Regions from separate parts of the Homo sapiens genome. Here regions 1, 2, 3 and 5 are each linked to region 4. Evidence: promoter capture Hi-C in 16 types of primary human blood cells and fetal thymus (Javierre and others, 2016). All regions are on one chromosome and are shown on one strand. The core of a region is centred on a gene start or on the middle of the fragment in contact, and the rest is flanking DNA. Distances in the headings are between cores, read along the strand shown.

Region 1 (2,700 bases), core at 101-2,600, 640 kb before region 4:
AGGACACAGACACATAATGTACTATGTGTTCTCATTTATTCATTTCTCCCTCTAGGAAGTATCTCTCTGAGGGCCTACATGTTTATCCCTTTGGACACTGCTAATGTTCCCAGCAGTTAGAAGCATACCTAGTATATTAGAGGCTCTCAGGAAATAGTTATTAATGAATGAATATTGAGCACCAAGATTGGAGTAGGCATTAGAGATGTGTTAAAATAACTAAATGGGAGGCCATTAGACTGAAGTGGCTCTGACACCCTGGATTCCTACATAAGCAAACTGAAACCTAACGGAATTTTAAACTTTATCTCAGCAAATCACAAATGGCCAATTGGGCATTATTTATATTGTCTTGAATCTTTCACTGAAATAGTCCAAATAAGGCAATTGCTCAAACTTTAACCAGACAAATAATTTCTTTGCTTTCACATTCACCTTATAAAAGTTTTTCCTTCAACCTCTTCCAGGAGCCTCTATTTCTGTGTGAGCCCCTAGCCATTCCCTGCCTGTTTCATGGTCACAGTCTGCTCAAATAAACTCTTAGTTTTTAATGTGCCAAAGGTTATGTTTTAATAGATGCAAACGTGAATCAGAGCAAATCCTGGCGATGTTCTGCAGGCAGTGGCCCAGTTATACGAATGCCTGTTCAATAAGTTTGCCTGGATAAAGGAAGAAAGGGGCAAGAAATGAATCAAATTCTACAGTGGGGACCACTACGTTTCTCTGCTTTCAATGCCTGCTTTATTATTCTTTTCTTTTTCTCTCTTTCTTTATCAGGGTCACCCTCAGGAAAAAGTCAGACACACTCCCCTGAAACCACTGCTGGCTGGAGGAAACAGGTTTAGCATATGTCAATGAGAACCACACATGCTATGGAATTTCATGCCAAAGCTATCAAGCTTCCCTTTGACAGCCTCACTGAGAAAACAAGTCAATAGAGATTCATTAATTGGAATTTAGAAACCTTACTTATTTAAAAAAAAAAGGCTGAAAATTATTATACATTACAGAACAATGATTCTCACACTCCAGGGCACTTAAGAATCCCCTGAGGTGTTAAGAAAAAGAGACTTTTTAATTGAAATAAGTTTCTGAATTTATAATAAAATTAGCATTTTGAGATTAAAGTCTTAAGAAATCTAAATTTATAAACTCATAATTTTAATAAATTGAATATTCACTAAAACACCAGCAACTCCAGGTATTTTTTCAAGCCCCAAATCTTCCCTTGTCGAAACAAGGGAATTAGCAATGCACCTGACATTTATCAGGCATCTTTGTAAGTTCTGTTGCCTTTATTATATAAGGGCTCTCTTGCCTTTATAGCCTACCCACCTTCTTCTTTTCCTTGGATTCAGCTATTATCTTTCTGCTAATTATCAATAAATTAATAATTTTGATTAGGGAAATCTCTTTCAAGTTTGGTAATGTTATGGGATCTTTGAGGTGTCCTTCTCCTGGCTGGAAACCTGTGGCTGGTGGAGGCCTTGCCCAAGTTTTGCTCAGCCCACTGGGCTCGTTCTGCCCACTTGGCCTAGCAGGCTGTACTCAGCTCATGCTACTGGCCTGGATCCCACACCTCCAAGGGAGACAGTGAGTCAAGCATGGAGCAGCAAGAGTTGTGTGTGTGAGCACGGGGTCTGGCCACTGCGCAGTCAGACATGCAGCTGCTGCCATGGGGCGGGCAGCTCCAGATGCCAGCATAGGCGCCGGCTCTCAGTGAGGCTGCAGCTGGACAGGGCGCACCACAAGGAGCTTCCCTGGCTGGCACCAGGGAAAGCAGTGGTGCCTGGAAGCTTGGAGATGCCAGGAACCACAGGGCCTCAAAGAAGGAGTCACAGCCCTGGCTCAGGGAGCTCCCAGGTCTAGACTCCCCAAAGGGCCACAGCTCTCCTTCTCTCTGCCTGTAACGTGGGGAGCAAGGGGCATGTTTCAGCCCTGTTTGTATTACAGTTCTCTTAGCCTTGCCATTTAGTGGGTCCCAAGTTCTTGTCTTGTGACCAGGAAGAATGAGGTACGCATGCAAGTGAAGGGTGAGCAAGATGATGAAGAGCTTTATTGAGCGATAGAACAGCTCAGTCTCCCACAAGGGGCAGCTCCTTTCCTCAGCCAGGATGTCCCGTCAAGTGTTCAGCTCCTAACTGAGAGCTGGTAGCTCCTCTCTGCAGGCAAGTCGTCCCAACAAGTGTTCACTCTTGGCAGGGAGAGTGGCTCCTCTCTGCAGCTGTTCCTCCCATGGTCCAGCTACCAGCAGAGAGGGTAGCTCCTCTCTGCAGCTGGTCATCCCGTCATCTGTTCAGCTCTGGCTGAGTCCTGGGCTTTTATGGCCTCAGAAGTGCCCGCTGATTGGTCTATGAGAGGCCATGGCGGGTGGCCAGAAAAGCCACCACCTCCCACTCCTATCAACTGGATGGGCAGTCAGCCCCAAGCCTTCAGGCCTTCCCTGGCCTAACCAGGGACCTGCCCCCTTCTACCCTCTTAACAGCCTGTCTGCCTCCTGCAGCTGTCCATGGAGCCCAGAATGCTCGAGTCAAGGGGCACCTGTAGGCCAGCACCAAGCTGCTCTCAGCCACCCCTCGGCTTCCCCTGTACTCCTCAGTGCCCAAAGTCCGGAGGGGGTCTAGGCAGCAGGGGGCTGGCGTGTCAGCACTGCCCTGAGCTTGGCCCCAACCCAGCTCCAAGATCAAAGCAGTGCAGGGA
Region 2 (2,754 bases), core at 156-2,655, 580 kb before region 4:
TTTCTCCCATTTGTTGTCTTTTCACTCTTGATTGCATCCATTGCACAGAAGTTTTTTTTTTTTTTATTTTAATGTAGTTCATTTTCTCTTTTTACTTTTCTTGCCTGTGCTTTTGGTATCATATTGAAGATCATTGCCAAATCCAATGTCCTGAAGCATTTTCACTTGTTTTCTTATAAATGTTCTCTAGTTTTAGGTCTCCTTTAAATTTATTAAGAACTCTTCCTACTGTTGACTTGCTTTATATGTTTTTGAGAAATCTGATGCCAGTCTAATTATCTTGCTCTTGTAAGTTTATTTAAGCAGTTTGCCTAGAGGCCCTGAATGCTTGTCTAATATTTTCACTGGTGTGTGTGTCAGAATTGATTTTTCCATGTTTTTCCTGTGGATCCTTTTAATGTGTAGAGTCACTTCTTTATTTCTGGAATGTTTTCTTGGATGATAGTTTGTAGTTTCGTAAGTGGAAGCTTAGATTATTGTGTTGAGGTCATTCTTTTCTAAAATAAACAATTAATGTTACACATTTCCTTCTCAGTACTGCTTAAGCCACTTTCCACAAATTTTGATATGCTGTGCCTTCATTTTGTTCCACAGAATTTTCTTATGGATTCCTCTTAAATCAGTTATTTAGATATGTTTGATTTCCAAATACTTGGGAATTTTCCAAATATCTTTCTGCAGTTGATTTCTAGTTTAAATCCACTGTGATCTGAAAACATATTTTTGGTTCTTTTAAGTTTGTTGAGGTTTGTTTAATGCTTGAGAACGTGATCTGTCTTGATGAATACTCCATATATGGCTGAAAAAATGTATATTCTGCTGTTAGGAGTGTTCCATATTAGATCAAGGTATTTGATGGCATCATTCAGGTCTTCTATATCCTTTTCTTTCTGTATGTTTTATCAGTTACTGAGAGAAGTGTTGAAGTCTTCAACCAAAACTGAAAATTTCTATTTTTCCTTTTGCTAAAGGTTGTTTTTTGAGCCCATATTGTTAGGTGCATATACATTTAGGATTGTTATTTCCTTGATTAATTTACCCCTTATCATTAATAAATGACCTTCTTTATCTCTGGTAATATTTCTTGTTTCTTTCTTTTGATTAACGTTAGCTTAGTACGTCTTTTTTCATCCTTTTAGTTTTAGCCTGAGTCCTTTTATTTCTTAGTATTTGTTTTCTTCTTCAAGATGTTTGTTTAATCATTATTCCTCCTTGTTTGAATATTCCATTTGTGGTGGTGGCTTATAGTCTACATTAGGTTTGTGGAGTGCTTTGGGGGGAAATTGATATCACCTGTAGTTTTTTTGCATTTTGAGTTTTTTTGTTTGTTTTATCATAGCTCCGTTATGGTGGTGATGTGGTCTGCCTTATTCTGTTGTTCATTTCATGAACTGGGTTCCAAATTCAATAATGTGTCCTCCTTTCAGCTCTGTGCTCTTTTGTCCAATCTTTTATATCCAGGGAGATCCCCTCAAGATAAATGTAACTTTTGAAATGTTTGGCTTGCAATTATATACTGAAATGTTACTTCAGACACTATTTTAGGTGGTACCAAAGGATGTCTTTTGCAGAGCAAAAGTTTTTAATTTTGCTGAAGTCCAAGTTAACAGTATCTTTTCTTTATGGAATATCCTCTAGTTTTCATGTCTCGGAACTCTTTACCTAGCTCTAGGTCCCAAAGATTTTCTCCTGTGTTTTTTTTCTAACAGTTTTATAGTTTCTTATTTTGAATCCATGATCCATTTTCAGTTAATTTTTGTACAAGATGTGCAACTTAGGTCCGTGTTTTGTTTTTGTTTGTTTTTGTTTTCCTATCAGTATCCAATTGTTTCAATACCATTTGTTGAAAAAAAAGAAAACAACAACAAAGAAAAAAAACAGCTATTCTTTCTGAATTGAATTACTTCTGCACATTTGTTAAAAGTCAGTTGGGTCTATTTGAGTGGGTCTATTTCTAGGTTCCCTGTTCTGTTTCATTAATCTATGTGTCTCTCCTTCAGCCAATACCACACTGTCTTGTTCATTGTAGTGTCTTAAAATTGGGCAGTGTTTTCTCCCATACCATTTTTCAAAATTGTTGTAGCTAATGTAGGTTCTCTACCTTTCCATATACATTTTAAAGTCATCTTGTCTATATCTACAAAAACCTTGCCAGCATTTCTAAAAGAATTGAGTTAAACTTGTTGATCAGTTTGGGGGAAGAACTGCCATCTTTATGATGTGAGTCTTCCAGTACATGAACATAGTATATGTCCTTATCTAGACCAAAGTCAATGTTTTGTAGTTTTTGGTATACAAGCCCTGTATATGTTTTCTTAGACTTAAGATTAATACCTAAGCTTTTCTCTTTTTTTTTGAGTAATTGTGAATGGTATTTTTTTTATTTCAGTTTTCACATGTTCATTACTAGTATATATAGTGTTGATTTTTGTATATTGGTCTTGTTTTGTGCCCTCTTACTGGACTTACTACTTCTAGGAGCTGTTTTGGAGATTGCTTAGGGTTTTCTACCATATAGACAGTTGTGCCATTTGAAAATAAGGACAATTTTATTTTTTCCTATAAAATCTATATACCTTTTATTTCCTTTTCTTGACTTAGTCTGCTGACTAAAAGTTCCAGCACTATGTTTATGTTACAAAGGGTGTTTTAAGCTTTAAAAAATTGTTTCAGTGAAGCTTTATAAAAGCCTTAGGCGTTATCTAGGTAGCATTAAACAATAAATACAGATGCACTGAAAAATGAAGTTTTCTT
Region 3 (2,700 bases), core at 130-2,629, 520 kb before region 4:
AACCACTATGCAAAGCTAAATAAGAAATAAAAATTTTTTTTATGGCCGAGCACCATGCCTCATGCCTGTAATCCCAGCACTTTCGGAGACCGAGGGGGTGGATCACCTAAGGTCAGGAGTTCAAGACCAGTCTGGCCAACAGGGTGAAACCCCGTCTTTACTAAAAAATACAAAAAGATGGCCGGGCGTGGTGTCAGGCACCTGTAATCCCAGCTAGTCAGGAGTCTGAGGCAGAAGAATTGCTTGAACCCGAGAGGCAAAGGTTGCGGTGAGCCAAGATTGCACCATTGCACTCCCGCCTGGGCAACGAGTGAAACTCCATCTGAAAAAATAAATAACTAAAAGTGTTTTTACTCCAAATGTCCACAGTCAATCCAGAGCCATTTAAAAACTATATCTGTACATATATCCAAAAGTATAAAGATCCCAACTCTATAATAACTTGAAATCTATCATAAATCTTAATAATTCCTATTTTAAAAGGCTTAGACAGCTCTGGCTGTATAGAATTTTAAACATATTCTAGTTTTCTCCTTACCTTAGAATGAACCTAAATTAATTCACAGTGTGGGAGCAGTTAACATAATCAACTGGAGACTTTTTCGAAGTCCAGCTCTTCTGGTGAGAGTCCTTGTTGCAGTAAACCATTATTGCTCTGTAACCTCAGATGTTTAGGGACAGAAAAAGGTTAAGAACCAATCTCGAGATTATACAAACTGTATAGTCTAGGATGAATTCAAACCTCTTTACATCTTGCTGAATCAAACTGAGTTTACAAAATCTTAGCTCATCTCCACAGTAGCTGCCTAGAATCAAAGGGGATTGGGAAGCAGGTCAAAGGATCACTCAGGGGTATCATGATCAACTTTGTTGATTTGTGTTGATCTTTGGCCAACCTAGACTCTATGGGAAGATGAGGTGGGGAAAAGTAAAAGTCCATTTTATGTTTAGTCATTTGCTTATTTGCATTACAGAGATAGTTGTCTTGTAATATGAATTGTAGGTACCTCAACTTCCTCATTTGTGGGATGAAGATAATTTTTGGCCCTGATAAACGATAATGTCTCTACAGTGCTTTGGTGGTAATGTTTTCAGAAGAAAGCTGTCATATAAATTCAGAGCAGTGAAAAAGGTCTTCTTTAAATATAAAGTATAATTAAAATGATAATGAAATGTTAAACCTTCCTCCTGATACTTTATCTGCACGTATATACTATAAGTAATGGTTATAAGAATCTGCTGTGGCTGGGTGCAGTCACTCATGCCTGTAATCCCAGCACTTTGGGAGCCTAAGTTGGGAGGATCACTTGAGCCTAGGAGTTTGAGACCAGCCTGGGCAACACAGTGAGACCTCATCTCTATAAAAAAATTGTAAAATTAGGCAGGTGTGGTGCGTGCCTCCTGTACTCCCAGCTACTGGGGAGGCTGAGGTAGGAGGACTGGATCGTTTGAGCCCGGGAGGTCAAGGTTACAGTGAGCCATAATCGTGTCACTGCACTACAGCCTGGGTGACAGAGCAAGATCTTGTTTAAAAAAAAAACAAAAAAAGAATCTGCTGTGATATGTGGATCAGATATTTAATTAGGCTGGTGTTCTTGTGTAGCCCGAGACAAAGAGGTCTGGACAAAATTATCTTAAGTCTGATCATAGGCTTTATTTTTTATCATTAAGATTGGATTTATGTAGAAATAATCATATTTATCTGTTGTGCTGTATCTTTAGTTGTTTCATATGTAATTATTTTCAGTAATGAGCACTCAGTGAGTAGTTTTTTTATTAGACTTCTAGAGCCCTCACCATATGTAGTCCTTCCTTTCTATAGTAGGGCCGTATGAAATTTTCACTATTTAGATCCTCTCAAGTTTCATTTCACTTCAAGATGTTCTGTTTTTGTTTTTAGAGAAAACCACTCCACTCACTTCAGCTTTGAAATTGTTTAACTTTTTGGTCCATGATTTAAAAAATTAAGGTGCTAAAGGCTCACAACGATCATGTAGACTGACTTTAAACTGATACGTTTTCTGCTGAGTTTATTTAAGCTAATTTGTTTTTAATTATTTTTAAATCACAGGTTCTAAATTAGTTCCATTCTGGAGCTGGCTACAAATGGGTAAAGACCTACTTTTTATACGACTTCGATATTTGACTGGTGCCTGGAGGCTTGAGCAAACTCGGAAAATGAATTAGGTTGTTTGCAGTCTTCAGTTGTGTTCTTATGCTTCAGTGTCACATTTCATTTCATTTGAAACTAAAATTTTAAGTAAAGCTGAAATAAACTTCTTGTCATTGTCTGCCTTTTGATAATTTTAAAGAAATAACTTTCCATAAGTAAAAAATTATATATCTCTTTGGATATAAATGATTTTTAAAAGATGTTTATTTAAAAAGTCAGATTTTCTTTTGTTTGTTTAGCTTCATTATCATTATAATTCTGAGAAACATAATTTTTGTAGACAGAAGCTATTCTTACCCTAAAGTGCCTGCATAACTCTCATGAACTTAACTATAAACTACAATCATGTAACAGTTTTCAGAGATTTAAAAATAAAGCTAGGGTATAAGTTTAAATGTACATAAATTTATCCAAATCAAAGAAACCTATTTCAGCCTATGAAACTTTAGGAAATTATATGTTAAAGGCAAGAATACAGACTTAGTCACAAAGGTGTTCATTTCCTTATAGTCTTACTCATCTCTAGC
Region 4 (2,700 bases), core at 24-2,523:
GGAGTTGGTGACCAGCCTGGCCAACATGGTGAAATCCCATCTCTACTAAAAACACAAAAATTAGCCGGGCGTGGTGGTGGGTGCCTGAAATCCCAGCTACTCGGGAGGCTGAGGCAGGAGAATCGCTTGAACCCGGGAGGTGGAGGTTGCAGTGAGCCGAGATCGCGTCACTGCACTCCAGCCTGGCGACAAGAGCGAAACTCCGTCTCAAAAAAAAAAAAAGAAGGAAAGGAAAGGAAAGAAAAAAAAAGGAAAGGAAGAAGGAAGAGAAACAAAGAAAAAGAAAGAAGGAAAGAAAGAGAAAGAAAAGAAAGAAAGAAAGAACGAAAGAAAGAAAGAAAGAAAGAAAGAAAGAAAGAAAGAAAGAAAGAAAGAAAGAAAGAAAGAAAGAAAGAAAATAAATCAATCAACTTTCCTGTAGTCCAGATTCCAGGGTTGTAATACTCAGGGGGAGTTGTAGGTACAAGGGCAAGAGAAAAGCACCTGGCACCAAAGCAGGAGAGCTGTTCTCCACAAGCATCATTCTCAATGCGTCTGAGTCATTACCTGGCCACAGGTCCTCCTGTACTGCCCATTTGCAGTTAGCAGCCCTAGCACTGTCCTCTGCGGGGGATCCTGGCCCAGCGGGGCTCTGGTGAGTATCTGACAAGCATCGGGACCTCGGGCCACTGTAGCCAGCACAACTCCACTCTTGGGGTTGCTGCAGTGCATTGCTTCAGACTCCACGGGCTGCTGCTACCAGGGAAAGAGAAACAGACAAGCTGTTTAGTCGATTCCGTCCACCCCGGGCTCCAAGGACACAGCGAACCTCTAGGAGGGAGAGCACCAAGCAATGGGACTAACACCAATTGCTGATCTTCCCAGTAATTATTGGGGCTGAAAGGGCAGGTGCGACCGCACAGGCGATCAAAGTTGCTCTGAATCAAAACAGTTATTTGAATCCCTGAGGGAGGCTTTTTATCCCAAGACTTCGTGTTGGGCTGGAAGGAGAGAAACATTCTGACAAGCCTCCAAGTCGGGATACTAAACCCACGTTACCTGGAAGACGAAATCTGGGAGCCCCGGTCCTTCCCAGCTGAGATACTCTTCTCCCCAGCCCCCAATAAAAGATCCAGGGTACATGATTGCGGGAAAGCCGGTCTCCATCCCAAGTGACGAGCAGGGTGCTGCGCTGCGGCCTCCTCCCACCAGACAGGAGGCCCCAAAACCTGCCTGGACCCCAAAGCGGGCCCCGCTCTTCCCGTCGTTATCTTTCTATGTGTCCGGAACAACTGGCAAGTGCACTGGAGGATCGCGGTTAAGAGGTGGCCGGCTGGGCGGGGCAGGGCGGGGCAGGGTTGGGCAGGGCCGGGCCGGGCCGGGCGGGGCAGGGCGGGGAAGGGCAGGGAAGGGCAGGGCACGGAAGGGCGGGGCGGGAAGGACCAAGTGTCGAGGGATTCCAGCCTGGGAGGCGGCCGGGCTTAGCGATGCGGCTGAGCTGCCCACCCGCGTCTGTTGAATCGGCCAATCAGCGGCGCCCCCGGACCTAGCGGGAGCGTTTCCATGCCGACCGCGGCAGGCGTGCGCTCTCCGGGGCCGCATCGCCATGGCGACCTGCTCACCTGACTCGCTCCGGGTGGACTCGCCGCGACCCCTGGGCGTTCAGGCCCCTGAGGGCCCAACGGGCGACGGCCCTCCAGCTCCAGCTGTGCGTCTCCGCCCGGGCGAGGTGGGGCTGACCGCGGCCGTCTGCACACGTCCCCTCTGGTCCGCGCCCCCGGCCTGGGAGGGCGGACTCGCCCACCCCACGATGGCCCCGGCTTTGGAAGGGACTGTTTCCGTGACCCGTTCTCCCAACAGCCGCTAACAACCCCCTCTAACGTCTCCTGCGCGGCCCGCTCCTGAGAACCCTGGCTCGGGAGAGCGACGCGGGGTCCTCGGGGCTGCGCAGGCTGCGGCGCCCTGCCCACGCTGGCCCGAGGGCGCGGCTCGCTCCGGGTCGGCTCACACACCTACGCTTCCTGCCGGGAGGCGGCTGGGACGCGGCGGGGCTGCCCCAAGTGCAGTCGCGGCAGTGTTGCGTCTCCATCGCGGGGGTCCTTGCGGGCCGCGCCTGCCCCGCCCGGCTCCCGGTGCATGTGGCCTGCGAGGCGGCAGAGGAGATGTGGGGATTTAGGGTCGCACGTCGTGCTCGAGGTCCCCACGAGAGGTCTTCCCCCGCGGGCTCCTGCGCAACTGCGTGAAGCCGGCCCGGGAAAGCCAAGATTGTGGCCCAGGAAGAGGAAGGAACGCGGGCGACAGAGCTGGGGCTTGGGACGTTGAGGGGGTCGGTGGCAGCTCTCCGGGCTGGGGGCCGGGCGGGCGGCCCGGCCGCGTGGGGAGAGGAGTCCCTGGGGTCCTTATACGGGGGGCTCCTGGAAACCCGGGGGCTCAGACGCCTGCATAGGTGACTGACAAGCCAGGTGAAATAATCGAACTTTATTTTTTTAAAAATAATATGTATATATGCACACACACATTACCAATGCTATAGTCTGTTACTACTTTTGCTTTTTTTAAAACATCCATCCCTAAATCTCTAAATCAGATCCAAAGTCTATTCAAATGGCCACTTTATGCAAGCAACGGTTATCACCGTTTTTCTAAGTGTGCGTTATTAACATTTTCACCAAGCAAACTGAGTGTGGACATTGCTTTAATGGGAAGATAGTAGTATTCTAA
Region 5 (2,700 bases), core at 126-2,625, 540 kb before region 4:
ATGCTATGGTCTAAATCTTTTACCTAGTACTGCTCTTAGCCAGGTATCAAGGGATCAATCGCAGGAACCACATATTTATAATTCATCTTGTCTCCATCCATCCATTCTTTCAGCTCTAAAACCAAGTGTTTGGTTTAGTGTTCTTGATTCCCACAGAATTGGCTGCCATTCTATAGAAAGAAGGGATAACCTTTGATACTCACTAGAGATCATTGGTTGTCCGCTGCAGATGCTATGACAACTACTGCTCAGTAGGCTTGTTCAAGTCCAGCTTATTCTTATAGAATCATAGCTGTCTCACAAAAGGTTGTCTCCAAGAAGGCACAAGACATGCATCCGCCTCATGTCTAGAAAACTGCAGCATGGCTTTCCATTTCCCTTCGTGTGCTGTCAGTAATAAACCCCTGCATGGTGATCAATCTGTGGACAATGAGAAAATTATAAAAGAACTAATCAAGATAGCAAATGACAACTTCGGTAGCTTATTGCCTAATGTTCAGAAACATCTTTCCTTGATATTTTTCTACATTTCTCAATTATTCTACCACCTCTTTTACTGCTCCCTTGGAAGACAAACATGACACTGCCCTGATAGAGTCTTGTATCATCCTTAAAAGTGCTTACATTCCCATGTGTTCTGTATAACGGTAATGTTTATATATGGTCTGGCTATTCTTGAATTTATCATTTTAAAAGGATTCAAAAATAGAATCCATTAGTGGTTACTTAATGTTTTTAGTTTTTGTTTAAAGAGTCTTTGCTTAAGTCCTGGGACTTCTTTGAACTTCTTATTTTAAGTTAATGAAATTAGAAGTCACCTTTAAATTTCACCTGAATTAATTTCTTGTTTACATTTTATAAACATTGAAGATACTAGCGTTAACACTGAAACAGTGAAAATTGTTTTCCTTAATGTTTTAAATGGCCATTTCAGAAGATCATATAAGCCTTCTCTCTTTTAGTAGCTTCACTTAACTAAATAAGTCTATCCTATATTTTAGGTATCTTCTAAATTTTAAGATATTTTGCAAAGTTCTAAAAACAAAAACAAGATTATCTTGTTTGTGACTAACCTTGTTAAGCTTTTAAATATGTTAGAAATCAAATAACTTAAGGTCTTCATGTGAACTCTACATTTTTCTGCTTTTTAAAAAATAGCCATTATCCTAAAGCAAACAAAAATCCTGTTATTAACATCCAAGCCAGAGCAGTCATGAATAGTTTTATTTGCGAACAAATAAGCTCACTCAAATCACATTAAAAATCACTCAAGGAGAATAATTTATAGGTATTGTTTTTCTACCTTTAATTTTTATTTTTCTATCTTTCAATTTCTATTTGTTCCTTTCCTAAGCATAAGTGCTCTTTTGGAGGTTTAATCAGTCAACCAGTATTTATTGGAAGTATTTTGTATGGAAGGCACTGAGCAAGCTGTTGTGAGATTCCTAAAGTATTTTAAGATGAGGTTTCTGCCCTATCTACTTAGAGAGGTAAGACATATTTACATCAACCCATAACTAATGATTCTAGATGATAAATGAGAAGTGCTAGATCATTTTTAAAAGTTTGTTTTACATACCATATAGATAAGTATTTTATTCTTCCTTTCCTTCCTGCCCTATTTAATACATAAGTAAAATTGTGGTCAGGAGAGTAAAGTAAGCTTTCAAGCTTTCTTCCTGTATGAAGAACATTATTGAGTTCCTGTTATTTTCTGTGCCAAACACTTCGCTATATTCTTTAAAATAATCTCATTTAATCCTTATAATAACTTTGTGAGGTAGGCATTATTCTCATTTTATCAGGAAATGGACTTAGAGGGCTGAAGTAACTTGTTGAAGGTCACCCTGCTAATTAGTAACGGAGCCAGGATTCCAATATAGGCCTCCTAGTTTGGTGCTTTTTCTTTTCTTTTCTTTTTTTCTTTTTTTTTTTTTTTGAGTTGGAGTCTCACTCTGTCACCCAGGCTGGGGTACAGTGGCGCCATCTCGGCTCATTGCAACCTGTGCCTCCCAAGTTCAAGCGATTCTTCTGCCTCAGCCTCCTAAGTAGCTGGGACTACAGGCGTGTGCCACCATGCCTGGCTAATTTTTGTATTTTTAGTAGAGATGGGGTTTCGCCATGTTGGGCAGGCTGGTCTTGAACCCCTGACCTCAAGCAATCCACCTGCCTCGGCCTCCCAGAGTGCTGGGATTACAGGTGTGAGCCACCGCACCTCGCCTGATTTGGTGCTTTTTCTTTGTTACTCTGTTCCACTGTGGTTCTGTTTGGTGTTGATGGAAAAAGCCATGCAAAGGAAGAACGATACTAAAAATTATAATTTTGAAAAGCAAAAGCCAAAAGGAGGAAGGGACCTTTATCCCATAGTATGAGATATTAAATGTTCTAATAGACTCTTAATAGGTTGCTTATGTATGTAAGTAACGCATCATTACTTGAGTCTATTGCCTTAACTAAGGAACATTTTAAAAGATCGTGTCTTAAAGAAGCTGGGTATAGTGGCACACGCCTGTGATCCCAGCTGCTCTGTAGGTTGAGGCAGAAGGATCACTTGATCCCAGGAATTTGAGGCTGCAGTGAACCATGACCACACCACTGGACTCTAGCCTGGACAACAGAAGGCGTCTCTGTCTCTAAAAAAAATTTTGTTATTTTATTTTTTAGAAAGATCCTATCTTTTACTAAATCTTAAATGTGAAA

What was found. The method cuts DNA at HindIII sites, captures the fragments that hold promoters and counts their contacts. A CHiCAGO score of 5 or more calls a contact.
Region 1: a contact is called between a fragment that was not itself captured here and the fragment with the promoter of CCNA1 in region 4, in 2 of 17 cell types (M1 macrophages and total B cells). The highest score is 8.4, in M1 macrophages.
Region 2: a contact is called between a fragment that was not itself captured here and the fragment with the promoter of CCNA1 in region 4, in 1 of 17 cell types (M0 macrophages). The highest score is 7.8, in M0 macrophages.
Region 3: a contact is called between a fragment that was not itself captured here and the fragment with the promoter of CCNA1 in region 4, in 5 of 17 cell types (M0 macrophages, total B cells, erythroblasts and 2 more). The highest score is 9.1, in M0 macrophages.
Region 5: a contact is called between a fragment that was not itself captured here and the fragment with the promoter of CCNA1 in region 4, in 8 of 17 cell types (M0 macrophages, naive B cells, erythroblasts and 5 more). The highest score is 11.6, in M0 macrophages.

Annotation. Positions count from the first base shown.
Region 1 is chr13:37,070,088-37,072,787 of GRCh38, reverse strand. No RefSeq gene overlaps it. Among named protein-coding and RNA genes, the nearest start is that of SUPT20H, 12 kb to the right of the region's middle. The HindIII fragment of the contact is 897 bases long and covers 902-1,798 here.
Region 2 is chr13:37,012,483-37,015,236 of GRCh38, reverse strand. All of the region lies in intron 23 of SUPT20H (SPT20 homolog, SAGA complex component), which reads left to right. Among named protein-coding and RNA genes, the nearest start is that of EXOSC8, 13 kb to the right of the region's middle. The HindIII fragment of the contact is 1,872 bases long and covers 470-2,341 here.
Region 3 is chr13:36,949,429-36,952,128 of GRCh38, reverse strand. ALG5 (ALG5 dolichyl-phosphate beta-glucosyltransferase) reads left to right here. Exons shown (of 10, transcript NM_013338.5): 10 at 2,072-2,391. The coding sequence ends at 2,187. Among named protein-coding and RNA genes, the nearest start is that of SMAD9, 31 kb to the right of the region's middle. The HindIII fragment of the contact is 3,861 bases long and covers 1-2,700 here.
Region 4 is chr13:36,431,068-36,433,767 of GRCh38, reverse strand. CCNA1 (cyclin A1) reads right to left here and starts at 1,273. Exons shown (of 9, transcript NM_001413923.1): 1 at 1,039-1,273; 2 at 547-735. The coding sequence starts at 711. RefSeq lists silencers at 1,380-1,539, 1,570-1,619, 1,900-1,969. The HindIII fragment of the contact is 15,627 bases long and covers 1-2,700 here.
Region 5 is chr13:36,966,462-36,969,161 of GRCh38, reverse strand. The region is part of intron 7 of ALG5 (ALG5 dolichyl-phosphate beta-glucosyltransferase); the gene reads left to right. Among named protein-coding and RNA genes, the nearest start is that of ALG5, 32 kb to the left of the region's middle. The HindIII fragment of the contact is 581 bases long and covers 1,085-1,665 here.